Regions from separate parts of the Homo sapiens genome. Here region 2 is linked to region 1. The links are contacts of gene promoters, found by promoter capture Hi-C in human tissues and cell types (Jung and others, 2019). All regions are on one chromosome and are shown on one strand. The core of a region is centred on a gene start or on the middle of the fragment in contact, and the rest is flanking DNA. Distances in the headings are between cores, read along the strand shown.

The links. Contacts are between HindIII fragments. The study calls those that stand out against the background at their distance.
Region 2: a contact is called between a fragment that was not itself captured here and the fragment with the promoter of USP16 in region 1, in 1 of the 25 tissues and cell types used here (aorta).

Annotation. Positions count from the first base shown.
Region 1 is chr21:29,023,201-29,027,875 of GRCh38, reverse strand. It overlaps USP16 (ubiquitin specific peptidase 16), which reads right to left and starts at 3,208. Exons shown (of 18, transcript NM_006447.3): 1 at 3,099-3,208; 2 at 1-3. RefSeq lists an enhancer at 2,943-3,332. The HindIII fragment of the contact is 4,673 bases long and covers 2,694-4,675 here.
Region 2 is chr21:27,976,023-27,980,421 of GRCh38, reverse strand. No RefSeq gene overlaps it. Among named protein-coding and RNA genes, the nearest start is that of LINC00314, 35 kb to the left of the region's middle. The HindIII fragment of the contact is 4,119 bases long and covers 1-3,548 here.

The DNA.
Region 1 (4,675 bases), core at 1,959-4,458:
AATCTAGAAAACAAGATAAAGTTAGCTTGACCAAAAAAAAAAGTATGTCTTATATTTCTCTAGGAGACAGTAATATAACTAAGCCACGTATATTATGCATGTCTATCACATTGTAATTTACAAAGACCAATCACATATAATCATCTAATTTTCAACAGGAACTCAAGTAGATAGAATAGTTATCTCCCGTTTTTCATAGCATAGGAAAGTGATTCTTAGCAAGCTTAAGAGGTTTTCAATATATGTAAAGGTCAGGAGAGAACCTTGGTCATCTTACACAGATCTTGAACAGTCTCAGAACTTGATACTCTTAGGAAGGTGACTCCTCACTACATACATGTGAAATAATGGCAGCACTTTAATCAGAAAACTGATTTGCTTCCCTTCTAAGCTACCTTTCTTAGCTCTGCAGTCTATGCAAATTAAACTGATAATTTCTCTAATAAAAATTAAAAATAATTCTAACAACCTCCTGAAGGGAGTTAGAAAATTTCCAAAATGGCTTCAAAGCCAAATACAAAAAGTGATACACTGTTGTACATTTTCCACACCAGGATTTCCTATGCGTATCAGCTAAATGAAAATTGATTACAACTGCATTCTCAACTATTTACATTATTATATTATTGCCAAAACCACTTTGGAAGGCTATTTGACAAATCTAGCTGCACATCAAATCTTCACTTTTTTAGTCAACAATTCAAACTTAGAAAACATGAAAAGTGCTAAAAGTACATACAGGTCTACCTAATTATATAGAATTATAGATTTTAGAAATAAATACATAAAATAGCACCCAAGTTCTTGCCTCCAATCCAACTCACTCTAATCGATGTGGGAGTTCAGTACTAGATTCATCTCCCAGTTATGCCATTTTTATCATATCACTCTCTTGATCGGAAGCATTTAACAGTTTCCTGGACCACACTCCCTAAACTTTGCACTCATAGGCCTTTATAAATTCGGCCCCATTGCTCGGCTAATCCTGACTTTCTATTACACCTCAACAACAACAAAAAAAACCACTAAAGTTATAACTATATAGTGCTTTTGATCTTCAAAGCCCTTTCACAAACATTATCACATCGGATTTTCATAACAACACTTTAAATAGAGGCATTTCACTCAAGGAGAAAAGTCAGGAAAAAAAAATGGTGAAAGATCACACAAACGATGAGCTAAAAGGCAGATGTTGTCTGGGTGCGGTGGCTCACGCCTGTAATCCCAACACTTTGGGAGATCGAGGTGGGAGGACGGCTTGAGGCCAGAAGTTCAAGACTAGCCTGGGCAACAAAGCGACACTCTATCTCTACCAAAAAAAAAAAAAAAAAAAAAAAAGGTAAAATGCAGATGTTTGGGTTTCAAGACCACCACTTTTTACCTGCCAATCAAGTCTGTCTCTTTTTTTTTTTTTTTTTTTGAGACGGAGTCTTGCTCTGTCGCCCAGGCCGGAGTGCAGTGGCCCGATCTCGGCTCACTGCAACCTCTGCCGCCCGGGTTCAAGTGCTTCTCCTGCCTCAGCCTCCCGAATAGCTGGGATTACAGACGCCCACCACCACACCCGGCTAATTTTTGTATTTTTAGTAGAGACGGGGTTTCACCATCTTGGCCATGCTGGTCTGAACTCCTGACCTCGTGATCCACCTGCCTCGGCCTCCCAAAGTGCTGGGATTACAGGCGTGAGCCACAGCACCTGGCCAAGTCCTTCTCTTGTACTCCACTCCAAAACACTTTGTACCCTCCCCGCCTTGATGTCTTTGATTTCTAGCTGTAATATTCTATCTAAATCTTACCAATCTTGGAAGCTCTCCATTTCAAGGAAGCCTTAGACAATCATTCTACTCTAAATAAACCTCTCCACTGAACTTCCCCAGTATTTATGGTATGCTCTAGTCATCTTGTCCCCTTATCCCATATTCTAGTGAATTTCTTAAATCTTTAATCTGGGTTTATGTTATTTCTGTAAGCAGAATCTAAAGTTCTTAGAAAAATAAATGGTTTCAAGCACAGTTTTGGAACTGCCTATAATATCTAGCATAATGTTAGTACATAGCAGGTCCTGAAGAAATACTTCTTGCATTGAAATAGAAAAATAGAATAGTACCTGAGGCATAAAGGATGATTACAAGGTGCAAAGGTAGGTACATAAGAATGAAGCAAACAAGTTCTGGTGAAAAAGAAAAGGGTGAAAAATGAGAAGTCAGAAGTCTGCAGTAGTGAAGACAGCACTAGTAAATCTGGTTTGAGGATTGCAGCAGCTTAGACTCCATAGGAAAACTTGAAAGACGAATTGTTAATTACTGCAGGCAGAGGACAGAGGGGTCACTCCAGTGCTGCGGAAAGAGCCTCAGTAAAGTTCTGACAACTATAAAGGCAACTAATGAGTCATGAGGAGAGCATATTGTGACTTCCATCAGCTATAAAACATCAATAAACTTAATACACTTTTCAAGTAGTGTCATCGGATGAGCATTAACGTCTTAGTGAAATGACTCTTCGCAGGACTCCATACAAAATCTAAATCAAAGATAGTCTTGCCGGTTCTCATATTATTCCAAGTCTCTTCACTCTCTGCCCTCCCAGTCTTCCCCTGCCTACTCGGTTCCATTAAAAATGTAAGCGTGTGGAAAACTTTGTCAGCAGGTGTTAACGTGGCTTTCAAGTTTTGCGTATATCAATCCCCTCCTAGATATAGTCAATTGGATAAGTGACAGATCCTGCTTTTCCTACCAGCCGTATGAACACGGCTGCAAATCCAGCTCCAACCCATAGGGAAGTCCCTGCCACGCGCCACCCACCCATTTGCTCGGCGCCTGCCACACCTTCCCTCTCCTCCCCTTCTAACTGCTCCGATCCCACGGGGGAACCTCTGGGTCCACGGGGTCGAGAAGGCCGCCAGCAGCGGCATCTCATTGGCCAGCTTCTGGAACTGACAGAACATGCAGCCAATGAGATCGCAGTACCGGAAAGTAGCCGGGTTACGTGCTTAAGGAGAGCGGCCTTCAAGAAGAGAACGAAGTTGGGGCGGAAAACAGGAGCTCTCCCAGCGCAGAAAGCCAGGCGAGCGACGACTGCCAGGCAGTGGGACCAGAACTCACCCACGGCGACAGAGCCCATAACTGCATCCCCTCATGGGCCTTTGGGCTGGGCAGCCAGCTCCGTCTTCCTCCTGGTGACGAATTGAGAGCGACGGAGTCGAAGCCAGAGTGACCCCTGGAAAGCAATAACTTCCGGAACGCGGCATTATGGGAAGTGGCTAGGCCACCACCACCCCACCCCCACCTCCCGGGACCATCGGCTCTGACGCTAGTAAATCTGCGCCTGCGTGCGGCTTGCGCCGGATGTTCGGGTTTAGGGGTTTGGTTGTCAATGGGTTTTCTCGTCTCTGACATAACCACGAAGTTATATAAATGCTCCTGAAGTGTGGGCATCCGGTGGTGGTCTGAGCCTTGGAGTTTCCTAGATGGTTACCTTTCTGGAACACATTATATTTGGAGCTAAAAGGGGGAACGCTTAAATTTGTTTCCGTAATTCTGTCCTGTCGACTTCTAAAACTGAGTACCTAAGTTGTCTTGAATTTACCTTCCTGCACCATGTCAGAATAAAAAACGCAGCGAGTGATTTTTTGTTTGTTTGAGACGGAATATCCCTCTGTCGCCCAGGCTGGAGTGCATTCTTCTGCCTCAGCCTCCCGAGTAGCTGGGACTACAGGCGCACGGCACCACGCCCAGCTAAAATTTTTGTATTTTTAGTAGAGACGGGGTTTCACCAATTGGCCAGGCTGGTCTCCAACTCCTGACCTTGTGATGCGCCCGCCTCGGCCTCCCAACGTGCTGGGATTACAGGCGTGAGCCACCGCGCCCGGCCGCGAGAGTGAATTTTTAAAGCAAAACCGAAAGACGGTGTCAGATAAATTGCGGGGGAGGAGGGGATTTTCAAATATTTACTGTCCATTCTTTGAAAATTTGTAAGTGCGAGCCCTGGCGCGGTGGCTCACCCCTGTAATCCCAACACTGGGAGGCCGAGGCGGGTGGATCACGTGAGGTCAGGAGTTCGAGACCAGCCTGGCCAACGTGGTGAAATCCCGTCTCTACTAAAAATACAAAAAATTAGTCGGTCGTGGTGGCGGGCGCCTGTAATCCCAGCTATTCGGGAGGCTAAGGGGGAGAATCGCTTGAAGTCTGGAGGCAGAGGTTGCAATGAGCCAAGATCACTCCATTGCACTCCAGCCTGGGCAACAAGAGCAAAACTCCCTCTCAAAAAGAAAAAAAGAAAATATGTAAGTGCACACTTTGTGCCAAGCCTTTCCTCAAATGAATTAAACATAGGCCTCTCTGCCCTGGAGTCTTAGTTTAGTAGAGAAGATAGTAATCGCTACCGTGGGGGTCGGGGGAGTTGCAGATAGCTATAGAAAAATAGATATGTAAACAGGTAATTCACCATAAAAGAACAATTGGTCATAAAATAAATGTCCATCCTTACTAATCAGATAAAAGGAGTTTAAGATGGTGGCATACTAACCACCAGAGTAACATTTGGTTAAATTTGGGGGAAAACTAGCTCTCTTGCTTTTTACTGCTGAGATAATTTTTGTTTTATTTACTTATTTATTTATTTATTGAGACCGGGTTGCACTCTGTTACCCAGGCTGGAGTGCAGTGGCACGACCTCAGCT
Region 2 (4,399 bases), core at 240-2,739, 1.0 Mb after region 1:
TGCTGTTCTGTATGACATAAATATAATTCACTAAATTCTCATCTTAAGTCTTGCACACCATAAATCAGATACAAATTATTTTAAAAAGTAAAATAATATAATAGAAATTTTAACACTGTAGCTACTTATATATGAGCAACATAAATTATTTTCTAAAACTTTCATATAAATTGCAAACATATATAGATTTATAGAAAATAATTGCCCTTTGAATAAGGTGAAACCATGTAGTCAAAAGGACATATTTTATTTGAGAAAAGTTTATACTTTTTTCAGCTCAACATTTCTTCTGTTTTTTTTAATAGTATAAGTTCCTAAATCAGATGTAGCCTTATCAATAAATGACAATCCTCAGTAGCTAAAGTATTATTTCAAGATGTAGGCAATGTAAAATGTATTGAAATGTTAGAATTTATATGGAGTCCAGCTTTTTACTTTCCGAACACACACAAGTGCTTTGAAATTCATTGAGAAGTTATTTCTTTGGCAAAAAACTCTTGCTTACTCTTTCCCTTCAAGAGAACAGGATCTAACAAGGTCTATACTCTGAAATTGTTTAAGATCTTTAAAGTCTGCTCTTACTCTTGAAGTAAGACATTTCCTTTGGTGATGACCTCATTGGAAAGGTCAAGGAGTGAATAGGAAATTCTTAGAGATTGAGATGGCATTGCCAATAGAGGGGAGGAAATTACTTACTTCATTATTTTCAAAGGACTTTTTTGTTTGAAGGTCAGATTAGGGCTTTCCAGCCTCTGTTTTTTCCTCCCATTAAGTCTTTCACAAGAACAAAATGTGTTTCTTGCTTGCATCCCCTGTAATAGGGAGGAGAGATTCCTATGCTTCAAGTGCATTTTCTTCAGATAAATGAGATAAAGAGTAATGATAACTGGTATCATTTTCTTAAAGTTATCCTGGCTTAATATATGTATATGTGATATCAAATGTGCTATTTTTAAAAAATATAATTTTATTTGATAACATGCACATAAAATATCCATGTCATTGACTGTTTCTAATTCTCTTATGCAGCTGTGAGTCAGGACAGAAAAAAAATTCCAATGAATATTTCATTGTAGGATGATTTTACAAGCCATTCATTCATGATTTACAAGCAATTCAGTTCCATTAGCATAAATTTTGAAGGTAATATGCATATCACAATGATTATAAGAGGGCAGCCTTGGTGGTTCACACCTGTAATCCCAGCACTTTGGGAGGCTGAGGCAGGCGGATCACCTGAGGTCAGGAGTTCGAGACCAGCCTAGCCTAAATGGCAAAACCCCATCTCTCTGTCTCTACTAAAATATATATATCAGGCCAGGAATGGTGGCATGCTCCATAGTCCCCACTACTCGGGAGGCTGAGGGTAAGACAATCGCTTGAACCCAGGAGGTGGAGGTAGCAGTGAGCCGAGATCTTACCACTGCACTCCAGCCTGGGCGGCAGAGTTAGACCCTGTCTCGGAAAAAAAAAATAATTATATTGATGTCAATCAGAAATGTAAATATCTTCAATCCGAGGAAAGAAACACACAAAGACAGTTGATGGAAAAAGGGAGTAACTGATGGAATCAGGAAGATCTTGAAATTGGTGTGTCATTTGATCCAGAAGACAGTTTTCCTAGAGAATGCCGTCCCATCTTCTAATCTTGAGAGTCTCATATATTCAATGAGGTGGGCTTAAAAACTGATTAATAATAATAATGATCCAGTTAATCTATAGGCTATAGATATGTGGTAAAATTGAGGGTTTTTTCCCAGAGAGTGGTATGTCTTAAATGCCAACCTGCTGTGTGAGCTTAATTCAGAAAGTGGGAAAAGTGGGGATTTTTGGGAAAAGGGATTGCAGTTTCAAAGCCAAACCAAACCAAATGCCCATCAATGATAGACTGGATAAAGAAATGTGGCACATAAACACCATGGAATACTATGCAATCATAAAAAAGAATAAGTTCATGTCCTTTGCCAGGGCAGGAATGAAGCTGGAAACCGTCATTCTCAGCAAACTAACACAAGAACAGAAAACCAAACACCGCATGTTCTCATTCATTAGTGGGAGGTGAACAGTGAGAACACATGGACACAGGGAGGGGAACATCACACACTGAGGCCTGTCAGGGGTTGTGGGGCAAGAGGAGGGAGAGCATTAGGACAAATATCTAATACATGCAGGGCTTAAAACCTAGATGATGGGGAGATGGGTGCAGCAAACTACCATGGCACATTATACCTATGTAACAAACCTGCACATTCTGGACATGTATCCCAGAACTTAAAGTATATATAAAAAAAAAAATCACCTGAGATCAGGAGTTCAAAACCAGCCTGGCCAACACGGTGAAACCCCATCTCTACAAAATTACAAATATTAGCTGGGCACGATGGCGGGCCCCTGTAATCCCAGCTACTCGGGAGGCTGAGGCGGGAGAATTGCTTGAACCCGAGAGGTGGAGGTTGCAGTGAGCTGAGATTACACCACCGCACTCCAGCCTGGGTGACAGAGCCAGGCTCCATCTAAAAAAAAAAAAAAAAAAAAACAATGACAAAAGACAGTATAAATTTGTGCATCTATTTGTGCATAGTGATATATATTAAACACATTTCTGTGGAATCTTTTTAAAACAGGTATTTCCTATTTTCTACAAATATGATGGTAGTAGGAAACATCCAGAAAAGTTACGATTCTTAAATTACCATGAGTGATTATCTCAGTTTTCAGTGGAAACTCCTAGGTTCTAGTTGTAAACTGTAGCAATGAATCAGATACGTAATTCCAAATGTGTTCTTATTGTACGAAAGCTTTAACAGTGCATTTCTATTTGGAAGATACACCAAGAAGGAATTTTTCAAGACCTCAACTTTAGAGAGACCTTTAGGTGAGGATTAAATACTTAATCAGGGAGAAGTGCAGCTCAAAAAGAATTTTTGATTTGGGATATGACCACTCCTCTTATTTGACAATTTCAAATCATAATGGAGGAAAAATGTTTTTAATAAGGAATATGTAGTTTTCATTCCTTGAACAAATATTGTAAATGGGAGAAGCTATCAGGAGATGACTTTATTCTGAATTTGTGTGTGTGTGTGTGTGTGTGTAAATTTAAATACATTCTTTTTATTGCCAATAAACTTTCTTGCAAGTACCAGTTTTTTCCCAAATGAGATGCAGATATATAAGTTTCATATAGTAATTTGGTTATAAATGAAGATTAAATGCAAAGAAATGCTGTGTTCCTATCTGTGGAAATAATTTTATATGCATGAGGAAAATATAGAGCACAGAAAGCCTTGAGTCAATAGAAAGTTAGGGAAATAATCACTGCTAAGTAGACACAGCAGGTATAAGCTCTGCCGGGAGAATCTTTTTACTTCTACCACTCAGATAAATTGTTTTCAATTAAAATTAATTTTCCAAGTAATAATTCTATATAATGAAGCTATTACTATAGTAGGCAATTTGTCATTGCCAATCTTATTGCAGATAATCTTTATTAGTACCATACCTAAGTGTAAACCTCTGCTCAGAAAATCTATTTCTTGGGTGACTCCCAAGAAAATCCTATTTCATTGGAGCTTTCAATGTAATTTCTACTAGAATTGGTTCATATTGCTTTGACCAATGGATAATAATGTAATTAAAGGAAGAAGAGACAGAAAATGGATTTGTTTATATTTACTTCAGAAAAATCTGAGACGGTGAAAACCATTTTCTAAGGTCTGGGATATGTACTTCTGGCTACATTAGACTATCTCTAATTCTTTTCTTACTTTCTGAATGTTTATTTCTTTCACTACCTTCTCTTTCTTCTCCTCCCACTGGATTGGAGTAATTCCTCAAGCATTAGTTTTTAGTTTTGTTTTTCTCTACATTTATTCTGCACAAATTTAATCTGAATGAATGGTTTCAATGTCCCCTTTATTTGCTGGTATTTTCTCCTGACTGTCCTCAATTTTTTTTTTACAAGGAATTTCCAGACTTAATTCTTAAAAGTCCCTTTAAACAATTTCCTCAGATTTCTCACTATCATTAAGAATACATACTTGGCTCTAAACCCTTCTCCAACTCCATCAGTGACATAGCAGTTCTCACACCAAAGTGATCCAAAGAAAATTTTAGGGTCACAAACTGCATGTTTCTCACTGACTCCCACATAATCACCTCAAAACAAAGTCAATTTCCTCCTTTGTTTCAATCTTTATTAATTGTTTCTGTACAACTTTTGGTGTGTTAAAAATATCTCAGACATTGACAGTTTGTATTTCCTTTGTACTTGTACCAAAACTATTTCATACTCAAAGCTTTTGTATTTGCCCCCCTTGATATGAGTTTTAATTCACTAAAATTCACAGCTGACAGCATTAAATCAGTTATTATAAAGTGACAGTAAAAATTACCTCTC